Regions from separate parts of the Homo sapiens genome. Here regions 1 and 2 are each linked to region 3. Evidence: promoter capture Hi-C in 16 types of primary human blood cells and fetal thymus (Javierre and others, 2016). All regions are on one chromosome and are shown on one strand. Each heading gives the region's core, a stretch centred on a gene start or on the middle of the fragment in contact. The rest is flanking DNA. Distances are from core to core; before and after follow the strand shown.

Region 1 (3,259 bases), core at 37-2,536, 4.1 Mb after region 3:
AATTCAAACTAAATTAACAGTCTCTTAGCTTTAATTGCATACTGTCAATAGAAAAAAACTGAAAGAAGGCCGGGCGCGGTGGCTCACGCCTGTGATCCCAGCACTTTGGGAGGCCGACGGGGGTGGATCACCTGAGGTCAGGAGTTCGAGACCAGCCTGACCAACGTAGCAAAACCTCATCTCTACTAAAAATACAAAAATTAGCTGGGCGTGGTGGTGGGCACCTGCAGTCCCAGCTACTTGAGAGACTGAGGCAGGAGAATCACTTGAACCTGGGAGGCAGAGGTGGCAGTGAGCCTAGATTGTGCCATTGCACTCCAGCCTGGGCAACAGAGTGAGGCTCCATCCCCCTCAAAAAAAGAAAGAAAGAAAGAAAAGAAAAAGAAAAAACTGAAAGAAGTACCTTGACATTCTTAGTTTTTTACTTAAATGCCATATATTATTGACCTAATTGTCCATATGGCTTCCTGTCTTCTTGAATCCTTCCTCTGCCTTATCTGAAGGCTTGTGTCTAGTCTCAGACACTAGGACCAACTCTTACCCTTGAGAGCAGGGAGAGGTGAATGGTGGGAGTGAAATTTAAGTGGTTAGAGTTAGGTCTTCACCTAAGTGGCTCAATATCAAATCAAATTTCACGTTGACATTTTCCACACTTCAAGTAACTCACTTTCAACCTTCCTTGTACCACGATTCAGGTAACAAAATTTCTGTCTTGATCATTTTCCTCATAAATAATTCTTCATTCTCACAAGTCTCTCACTCCAGATGCTGAAAGCTTGTTCCTGCACTATAACCTCATTATCAGTTGGTAAACTGACCTACCTCCAGCTAAGTCCTATTTGAATCTCTAGTGTCCTTTGCTTCTAGAGTTCTCACTGCCATGCTCCTCCCCTAATATGGCTGTCTCTGGTTGTATGTATTGCAAACCACTTGCCTCGACTGCCAGCTGCTGTCTGCATCCTTCTGTGTACCATGTTCTGCCTAACAACATCCTGCCATCACCCCCAGTTAGGTTTACTCTGGCCTTTAACCTGTCCTGTCACTGCTAACCCTTTTGTGTGTAGCTGTTAGGAGATGTGACATAAATGAAAGGCAACCTTATCTTGCATACAACAAAAGCAAGAGCTTAGGAATAAAAGATTTTGGCAATAACTTCCATGACCACTATTATCTGTACATACAGGCTTAAAAAGTCTTAATGGGATGATGGATTATGCTACTAATATGGCCAGCTATCAAAAAAACTTGCATGAGTTTGACACTCATGTGTCAGTCAGTCTGCTGAATTGAATGCAAACAAATGAAGAGATATGTGATGATTGTCAGAATTAATATGAGTACATAAGAAAGAAGTTTTAAAATTTTAAGAATATGGTTACTTATGAAAGTGAGGATAGTTCTTTGTGATAAACTCAGTAATGAAGATCATTTAATGCTGAGATGGGTTTTATATTCTAGCACAGAGGTTTGCAAACTTCTATAAAGGGCCAAATAGTACATATTTTAGTCTTTGTTGCATCCACCACTGTGGCTTGAAAGAAGCCATAGACAGAGAGTAAATGAATGGGTGTGACTGTTTTCCAATAAAACTTTATTTATAAACACAAAAATGAGAATTTTATATAATTTTCACAGGACAAAATATTCTTGTTTTGAAGTATTTTCAACCACTTTAAAAATGTAAAAATCATTCCTAGCTTAAGGGTCATATAAAATTAAGTGGCAGGCTAGATTTGGCCCACCAGTTGTAATTTGCCAACTTCTGTTCTAGCTTGATGCATATTTTCCTAAGCTTTTAATTGACTGGAAATGTGTATGTATGTTGGGGGCCAGCTGCTGGTGAACAAAACTGGCTGTAGCTACTGAGCATACTCAGTGTCACTTAGAAATCCCCAGAAGTTTCAGAATATATATCACTTTTGTAAGATTTCAGTAGATACCACAAGCAGAAGAGCAAGCAGAAAGGGAGATTTCCGAGAATTTTAATGAGATGGGGGGCGGGGACAGTGAAGAGCAAAAAAAATGGTTTTTCCATATCCAAAAATATACTCAGCCCTGACTTAAAAAATGCTCTTGGCTGGGCGTGGTGGCCCACGTCTATAATCCGAGCACTTTGGGAGGCTAAGGCAGGTGGATCACTTGAGGCCAGGAGGTTGAGACCAGCCTGGCAAACATGGCAAAACCCATCTCTACTAAAACTACAGAAATTAGCCAAGTATGGTAGGCGCACCCTCGTAATCCCAGCTACTCGGGCTGCTGAGGCACCAACCTGGGAGGCGGAGGCTGCAGTGAGCTGAGATCGTGCCACTGCACTCCAGCCTGGGTGACAGAGAGAGACTCTGTCTCATAAAAAAAAAAAAAAAAAAAAAAAAAAAAGCTTTTTACATTTTCAAAAATATGCAGAATTGTCCTTGACTGTTGAACAATTTAAATCCTCCATTATGGATGTGAAGAATTTTAAGACTCTTAGTTTTTATCAAATAACCAAATGGAAATAGGAAGTAGCCAGTAGATTATCTCTACAGCTAAACAAAACAAACAAAGCAGAAACCTGCAAAAGACAAAGCATTCTTGAAAAATGAAGTAAGGTCCTAGAGAAGCTATTTCCACCATCCAACACCAGCTGAATTCCCAAATGGTTAAACTTTCACTATAAGTGCTACCCCACTCCAAGTAAAAACTACCTAACACATGGGAGTAGTAAACATGAAACATTGCTCTCATTTATTTAATAGTCGTCACCTTGTAAATAAATATGAGTACATCAGATCTCCAGTTATGGGGCTGGAAGATTTTTAGCATAAGGACAAGTAGGATGCAGAGGAAAAAGGGAGAATGGCTAGAGGCATAGCAAATAATTATTTTCTGTAACACGGAAGACTTTTATCCTATTTATTTACAAGGGAAACCCTCGATTACAACTTGTCTATTAGGTTCTGAGACCTTTTGTGAAATCAGACCCCCAAAAAAGCCGGGGGGATCTGTGAAAAACAGATCCAAGTGTATTTGATATTTGGCATTCTCCGGTGTCCCTCCCACTTGTCACTTTCTTTTCTGATCCGTTTCAGATTCATTCCATATCCTTTTCATATTCATTTTATGTTGATCCTCTTGTCCCTCCTCCCTCATTTTCGTGGTTCCTTCTCCCTCCTCGTCTCATTAAAACTCTTGCAAATCTCCCTTTCTGCTTGCTCTTCTGTTTGCGGTAGCTGCTGAAATCTTACCGAAGTGATGTATATTCTGAAACTTCTGCGGGTTT
Region 2 (3,157 bases), core at 487-2,986, 3.7 Mb after region 3:
CCATTCTCCTCTTTGTTTTTCCTCTCCTGCTTTCCAGTTGGGAACCAAATTATCTATTAAAGGTCATATTCACTTCCTTAATTCATTTAGGAGCTACTCCCCCTGTGGATAAATGCCCCGCAAGATAAATGTTTGGAATTTACTTCAAAAATGAAGGCATTAAGGTTCTCCTGGCGTTGAATTTTTTTCACCCTGGTTGCTGAGCAGGGGAGGTACAATTGGCAAGTTTTTGGCAGAGGGAAGCTATTTGGAATGTGCTCTGTATTATTAGAAAGCACTTTTGAGGGAAAGTGGGGGGCTGTGACTTAAATCTCACTAGTAATTTTTCTAAGACACACCGCTGATGCTTTTTTAATGTTTCGTTTCATAATTCAGTTTTTTGTTTCCCTTAGGGTGCTGTTGAAGTATTTCTTCCCTATGGCTGGGGCTTGATGAAAGCGCTTTAAACCTGGGGCTGCTGCTGATCTGTGTATTCACCACTTGTTTGATGTTTGTGCTTTTCACCCTTTCTCTGTGGGTTCTGAAGGGAAGCAAAGGCCATATATTCAACTCCACATGCGGGAACCATGAGCCTAAAACCCAGCTCACTGCACTTTATATTCAAAGTTTGTCAGTAGTGACCTTCCTTTTGCTGTTTATTGTACTGTTAATTAGCAAAGGTAGGGCAAAGCTCTCCGTAACATATTAAGTTGGCACAAAAATATCCAAAGTGACCAAAAAATCCAGCTGAAATGAAACCTATTTGTGTGGAAACTACTTGGGCCTTCAGGACCCTTCAACAAATAACCTGCTGTTTAAGTGACCACGATTCTTTTCTCAGCATTGTCTGCTTGGGACATCTGGACCTTTTTTGTTGCTTCTGACATAGAAATAACATCATTTTAGGTAGCAAGAATTGTTCTGTCAACCTCAATCTTTTCTGTAATTTTGAAATTGAATCATGCTTTGCAGAGCTGTCTAAATGAAGCTTCCTAGTGTTTTGCTATGGCAGGTATTGGTTAAAATCTTGGGTATTATGTTTACTCTTTTTATCTGACCTGCGAATTGAGCCCTGTTCTGTGTAAGGTCCCCTTCCAGATGTTGTGAGCTGAATAGTGAGGAGAATGTATTATACTTTAGTAAATGTAGCAAGCTGGGGCAAAAGCAACGTAGAACTTGCTAAGCTTTATAAGATAGGTTATCAGAGATGGCTGATGAATTCAGAGGGGGTACAGTTATCTCCAACAGAGGGAAGCCAGAAGCTCTTACCAATGGAAATGGTATGTTGACATGTCAGTATTTTAACAGAAACGAGGAAAGGACGTTCTAAGCAAGGGGCAAAATGGGTAAAGGAAGGAAAGCATAGGGCATACTTGGGGAATAGGTGGAAGCAGCAATAGAGGACAAAGCAGGAGATCAGATTGGAAGTGTTGGTGTGCAAGAGCTGTGGAGGCCTCTCTGTCTTGCAGCCTCATTCTGTGGTCTCTGGGCTGGTTGGTTCAATAGAGAAGCCCAGTTTAGATATGTTCTCCATTCAGTTCTGGTGTGGCCCATCTCACTTCCAGAAACATACCTCTCAGAATAGAAGCCCTGAGGCAGTTTCGTAAAAGCCCTCTTCATTTACAAAATGAAGAATGTTTTAAGATCATAAACAGGCTTTGAAATAGGCCGCATTCAAAACAAAACAGTAATGAAATAAATCCACTTCAAATTAGGATTAAAATTAGGATCTATGCAAAGCATGTAATTATACACATAAAATCATTAAAACTTACAAAGAAAATCACTTTTTTTTAAGCTACAAGGAAATGGGTTCCTAACATGAGCATTTTTTGAGGGACATTAAATCAGTTTGCTTGTTTGGTACACAATCTGGGTTAATTTTATGCCATTGTTTTTTAAGTAGTTAAATTTTATGTGTAGTCAGGGATTTGTTGTTTTGTCCTTATGATATTTAGGAAATGTTGATGAATAACAAAATGTGGCTTTTGATACCTTTTTCAGACAAGTTTGCTCTAAGAACTTCTTTCCTCCACACGTTTACCTGTGGTAAAATATACGGCCCATGTGGGTCAAGGATTTCTGCTCATTTTGTTCACTGATATATTCCTGCCACATAGGAGATACTTGTTGAATAAATGAATGGTGAGCAAAAACGAAAAAAAAAAATCCAAATTCCATTGCTGGTCGGGTAGCACTTTAAGGTAGGATTGTTCTTTTCAAACCACAAAAATAGTGCATTATCAAAATATTTGAAAGGGCATCTAAAGGTTTTGGTTGTAATAGTTTAATGAAATCATTATCTATTCAACACTTGCTAATTAAGCTTCCATTATGGATCCTGTCAGATATGGGGCAGGCAGTAATTAGATAAAAATCCCACCCTGGAGGTGTTCATTTTATAATGGAGTAGAAAGATACATAAACAAGCAATTAAAAGAGACATTTCTCTGTAGTGCCAGATGACACACAGAAGAGTAAGTGGTCAGTTGATTCTTTCAGGGAAAAAAATAGAACACAGGATTGAGGAAAGTTCTACAGTGGGATATTCAAAGTAGGGTTTGAAGAGTGAGTAGGTGTTCAGCAGATGATGTAGATGTAGCCAGAAAAGTGCTTATTTAGTGCTTTAGTATGTTCGAGACCTGGTGGAGTACTTTACACATATTACCTCATTTAATCTTCCTGAGTCTGAGGAATGGGTCTCCTTTTGTTGGGTGTGGAAACAGTTAAATGGCAAGGTCACTGATTACAGAGACAGGATTAAAAAAAAAAAACAAACAACCTTGAGTCTTTTGCTCTGTTACCCTACTGGGCATTTAAGGTGGAGTTAATAGCTGGTGTAAAGGCACAGAAAAATCAAATTAGTATTTGAAGCATAGATGAGTGAGGGTGGTGATGAGGTGGTCATGAGACTGGAATGTTTTGGGGGGATTAGGCTGAATATGGTTTATTTGGAGAGCTTTTAGAGGTTTTTAACAGTAAATAATGTAATCAGATTTAACATCTCTTGAATCTGAGATGTGAGGGTTTTTGTTTTCCCATTATACTTTTAAGCTCTTTTACCTTCTTTCTTAAGTCTTCTCATGTCTTTGAAATTTTGGGTATTAGCAATCATTTGCTGAGATGGCTACTACAGGATGGGTAAAGCATAGCATGTGACCGTGAATTACTGATATGG
Region 3 (2,898 bases), core at 156-2,655:
CCAAGTTTACCGATATTTACTGAGATAGAGAAGGCTGAGGAAGGAGCAAGTTTGGCCTGGAATATCAGAAGCTCAGTTTGGAGAGGTAGAAAGCAAACTTCAAATGAACGCTCTGCAGGAAAACAGAAGAAATTTGAACTTCCCGATAGCCCTCTTCAAGGACCACTCCAAGAAAGGGAAAAGGCAGATTTTAGTATCCTCTGCTTACCAGGGGCCTTGGGCAGTTACGTTTTTGAAGCACTAATAGCGCCGTTTGTTCCCATTCTAAATGCTCAAAGTGCTTTCTCGCTTTCTCAGGGTTTGCTTTTTTTTTTTTTTTTTTCTTTTGAGACGGAGTCTCCCTCTGTTGCCCAGGCTGGAGTGTAGTGGCACGATCTCGGCTCACTGCAACCTCTGCCTCCTGGGTTCAAGCGATTCTCCTGCCTCAGCCCCCGGAGTAGCTGGCATTACGGGCGCCCGCCACTATGCCAGCTAAATTTTGTATCTTAGTAGAGACAGGGGTTTCACCATGTTGGCCAGGCTGGTCTCGAACTCCTGACCTCAAGCGATCCGCCCGCCTGGGCCTCCCAAAGTGCTGGGATTACAAGCATGAGCCACCGCACCTGGACAGGGTTTGCTTTTATCCCTTTGTCTCCCTCTGGCTTCCAAGCTGACAGGTACACTTTTTTCCCCCATCTGCGAATGTACTCATCTGATCCCATAAGCCGCCTCCACTTTCTAATTCCCTGGAAGCTTGGAGGCCGGAGAAACAAGCGAATTACAATCGTGTGGAGGCTCAGCGAGCTGCTGGCGCCACAGGCATCTGTCAGGTGCTGGCCTGACTTCCTGGTTCTGGGGAAAAGAGACTTCATTTCGCAGTCGGGTTCACGGAATCCAGGGCCTGAGAGGTGAGAAACTTGAGGTCCGACTGCGCCCCAGAACAGCTGGGTGACGTCCCTCCAAGCCTCAGGCTCTTCCTCAGGGCCGACGAACTTCTTGATTACCGGGGACCTACCCAAGTCTTTCTTCTGGAGTAAGCTCTGTCAAAGGAACCCACTTCCTCTCTAACTTTTCTCACGGATGATAAAGAGATTTCCGTTCCGCAGCCGACCCCAGCAACCCTGGGGCAGAGGTGCCGAGGCCTGGAAGCGGACCTCGGACGACGTTTGACCGAGGCATTAAGGCGGGGAATGCCTTACCTGCCCGGGCGCGGGCTGCTGAAGCCGGCGACAGAAGAACCAGCCGAACTAGGAAGCGCCGCGAAGGGGCGGGGCCTGCCGGGTTGGCCCCGCCCCACTTCCCCGATGGGCTTCATCTTGGCGCCTCCAGGCGGCTCCACAAAGTGAGAAACTCCACGTATTGCGTAGGGCGCGTCTTTACGTGGGCGCCTGCCCCTTTAATTACGCCCCTGTCGGAGGCTGAAACACTTAAGGCTTCCGGGCATGCGCACAGCGTTGTGCAAATGAATGCCTTCCACTGAACCGAGGTAGACGGGGTCGAGTTTCTTGCGCGATGGTGGGCTTGTATGTGTGTGTGTGTGTGTGTGTGTGGGGGGGGGGGGTGACGAGGTTGGCATTGAGGATCCATACCCTTTGCGCCCAAAGAAAGGTGACGTGGACTAGTGTCGTGCCTTTGGACAGGCAGAGTAAGAGGAGGGAGAAGAAACAGGTAGAGCTGCTGGCCTTGTCGGGGACACCTTTGGACGTGCTGGAGGGCAACGACGCCCTAGTTTTCTGTGAAGTTAAGTAGCTTCTGCAGGACTGGGTTCAGTATTTCTAGTACCTTCTCAGGATCCCTCCTCCGCCAACGAATTCCTCAACCACGGGCCAAGCAAACTACTCCCCCGCCCACTGTCAGCAGCAGTCTCTGTTGAATGGGAATACTGCACCTTCAGGCTTAACGCCACGTGGGCTCCTTTGCTGTCCTCCAGGTCAGTTCCACTCTTCTACCAGGATGCTGGAATTACATTCTCCCCAAGTTTCCCTACCTGTTTCACTTGCTTAGAATGTCTGTCTTCCTCCTTTTTTCTGGGAGAAAGAAAAGATCATTATTCTTTCAGGGCCAATCCCTACAGCTATGTTCTTGACCATGCTGTTTTGTTTTTGAACTCCTCTAACTGTTACTCCATCGGATACATCTTGCTCATTTCCATCAGAATCATCTTACAATTCCAAAAGCATGTTTTGGAATTGTGTCACTTTTCTACTCAAACACTAACAGTAGCCATCCATTGACCACCCAATAGATTCTAAGTCCTTGTCAGGGCATTCAACATCTTCCATAATCTGGTACTAACTCAGCTACATTTTCCAGCACTGTAGTCTCCCTGCATTCCCATCCCCACTGCTCTGTATCTGGACTGCTTGTTTTTCTTGCACACATTGCATGTTTTGTTTGTACATTACTTGTGAGGTCTCTGCCTCATTTCTATCTCTTGAACTATGGAGGACTTAGATGGCCACTTCTTGCATTATGCCTCTTCTAATTATCTTCCACTTCATTCCTACAGCTCTTATTTTGTACTAGTTATTTCATTTATTTAACAATAGTATTTATTGCAGACCTACCATGTGCTTGACACTGTTCAAAATGTGTGATCATCAGTAGTAAATAAGGCAGACAAGGTTACTCCTCACGTGGAACTAACATTCTCTTTGGAGGAGATATACAATAAATAATAAAGAAAAACTTTACCTAGAACTGCTATGCAGAAAATTAAATAGGGTTTTGTGAAAGAGAATCACTTGCTGGGCACGGTGGCTCACGCCTGTAACCCCAGCACTTTGGGAGGCCGAGGCGGGTGGATCACGAGGTCAGGAGTTCAAGACCACCCTGGCCAATATGGTGAAACCCCATCTCTACTAAAAAAATACAAGAATTAGCCGGGCGTGGTGGCGCGCCCCTGTGGTCCCAGCTACT

Evidence for each region. Contacts are between HindIII fragments. The CHiCAGO score rates a contact against its expected background, and 5 or more counts as called.
Region 1: a fragment that was not itself captured here is called in contact with the fragment with the promoter of PUS7L in region 3 in 1 of 17 cell types (total CD4 T cells); the score reaches 6.1 in total CD4 T cells.
Region 2: a fragment that was not itself captured here is called in contact with the fragment with the promoter of PUS7L in region 3 in 2 of 17 cell types (naive B cells and total B cells); the score reaches 7.2 in naive B cells.

Annotation. Positions count from the first base shown.
Region 1 is chr12:39,620,205-39,623,463 of GRCh38, reverse strand. No RefSeq gene overlaps it. Among named protein-coding and RNA genes, the nearest start is that of ABCD2, 2.0 kb to the right of the region's middle. RefSeq lists an enhancer at 2,041-2,120. The HindIII fragment of the contact is 1,017 bases long and covers 778-1,794 here.
Region 2 is chr12:40,101,423-40,104,579 of GRCh38, reverse strand. All of the region lies in intron 1 of SLC2A13 (solute carrier family 2 member 13), which reads left to right. Among named protein-coding and RNA genes, the nearest start is that of SLC2A13, 3.1 kb to the left of the region's middle. The HindIII fragment of the contact is 1,142 bases long and covers 1,166-2,307 here.
Region 3 is chr12:43,757,297-43,760,194 of GRCh38, reverse strand. It overlaps PUS7L (pseudouridine synthase 7 like), which reads left to right and starts at 1,405. Exons shown (of 9, transcript NM_031292.5): 1 at 1,405-1,465. It overlaps IRAK4 (interleukin 1 receptor associated kinase 4), which reads right to left and starts at 1,244. Exons shown (of 12, transcript NM_016123.4): 1 at 1,179-1,244. RefSeq lists enhancers at 538-597, 1,218-1,327, 1,668-1,717. The HindIII fragment of the contact is 3,611 bases long and covers 735-2,898 here.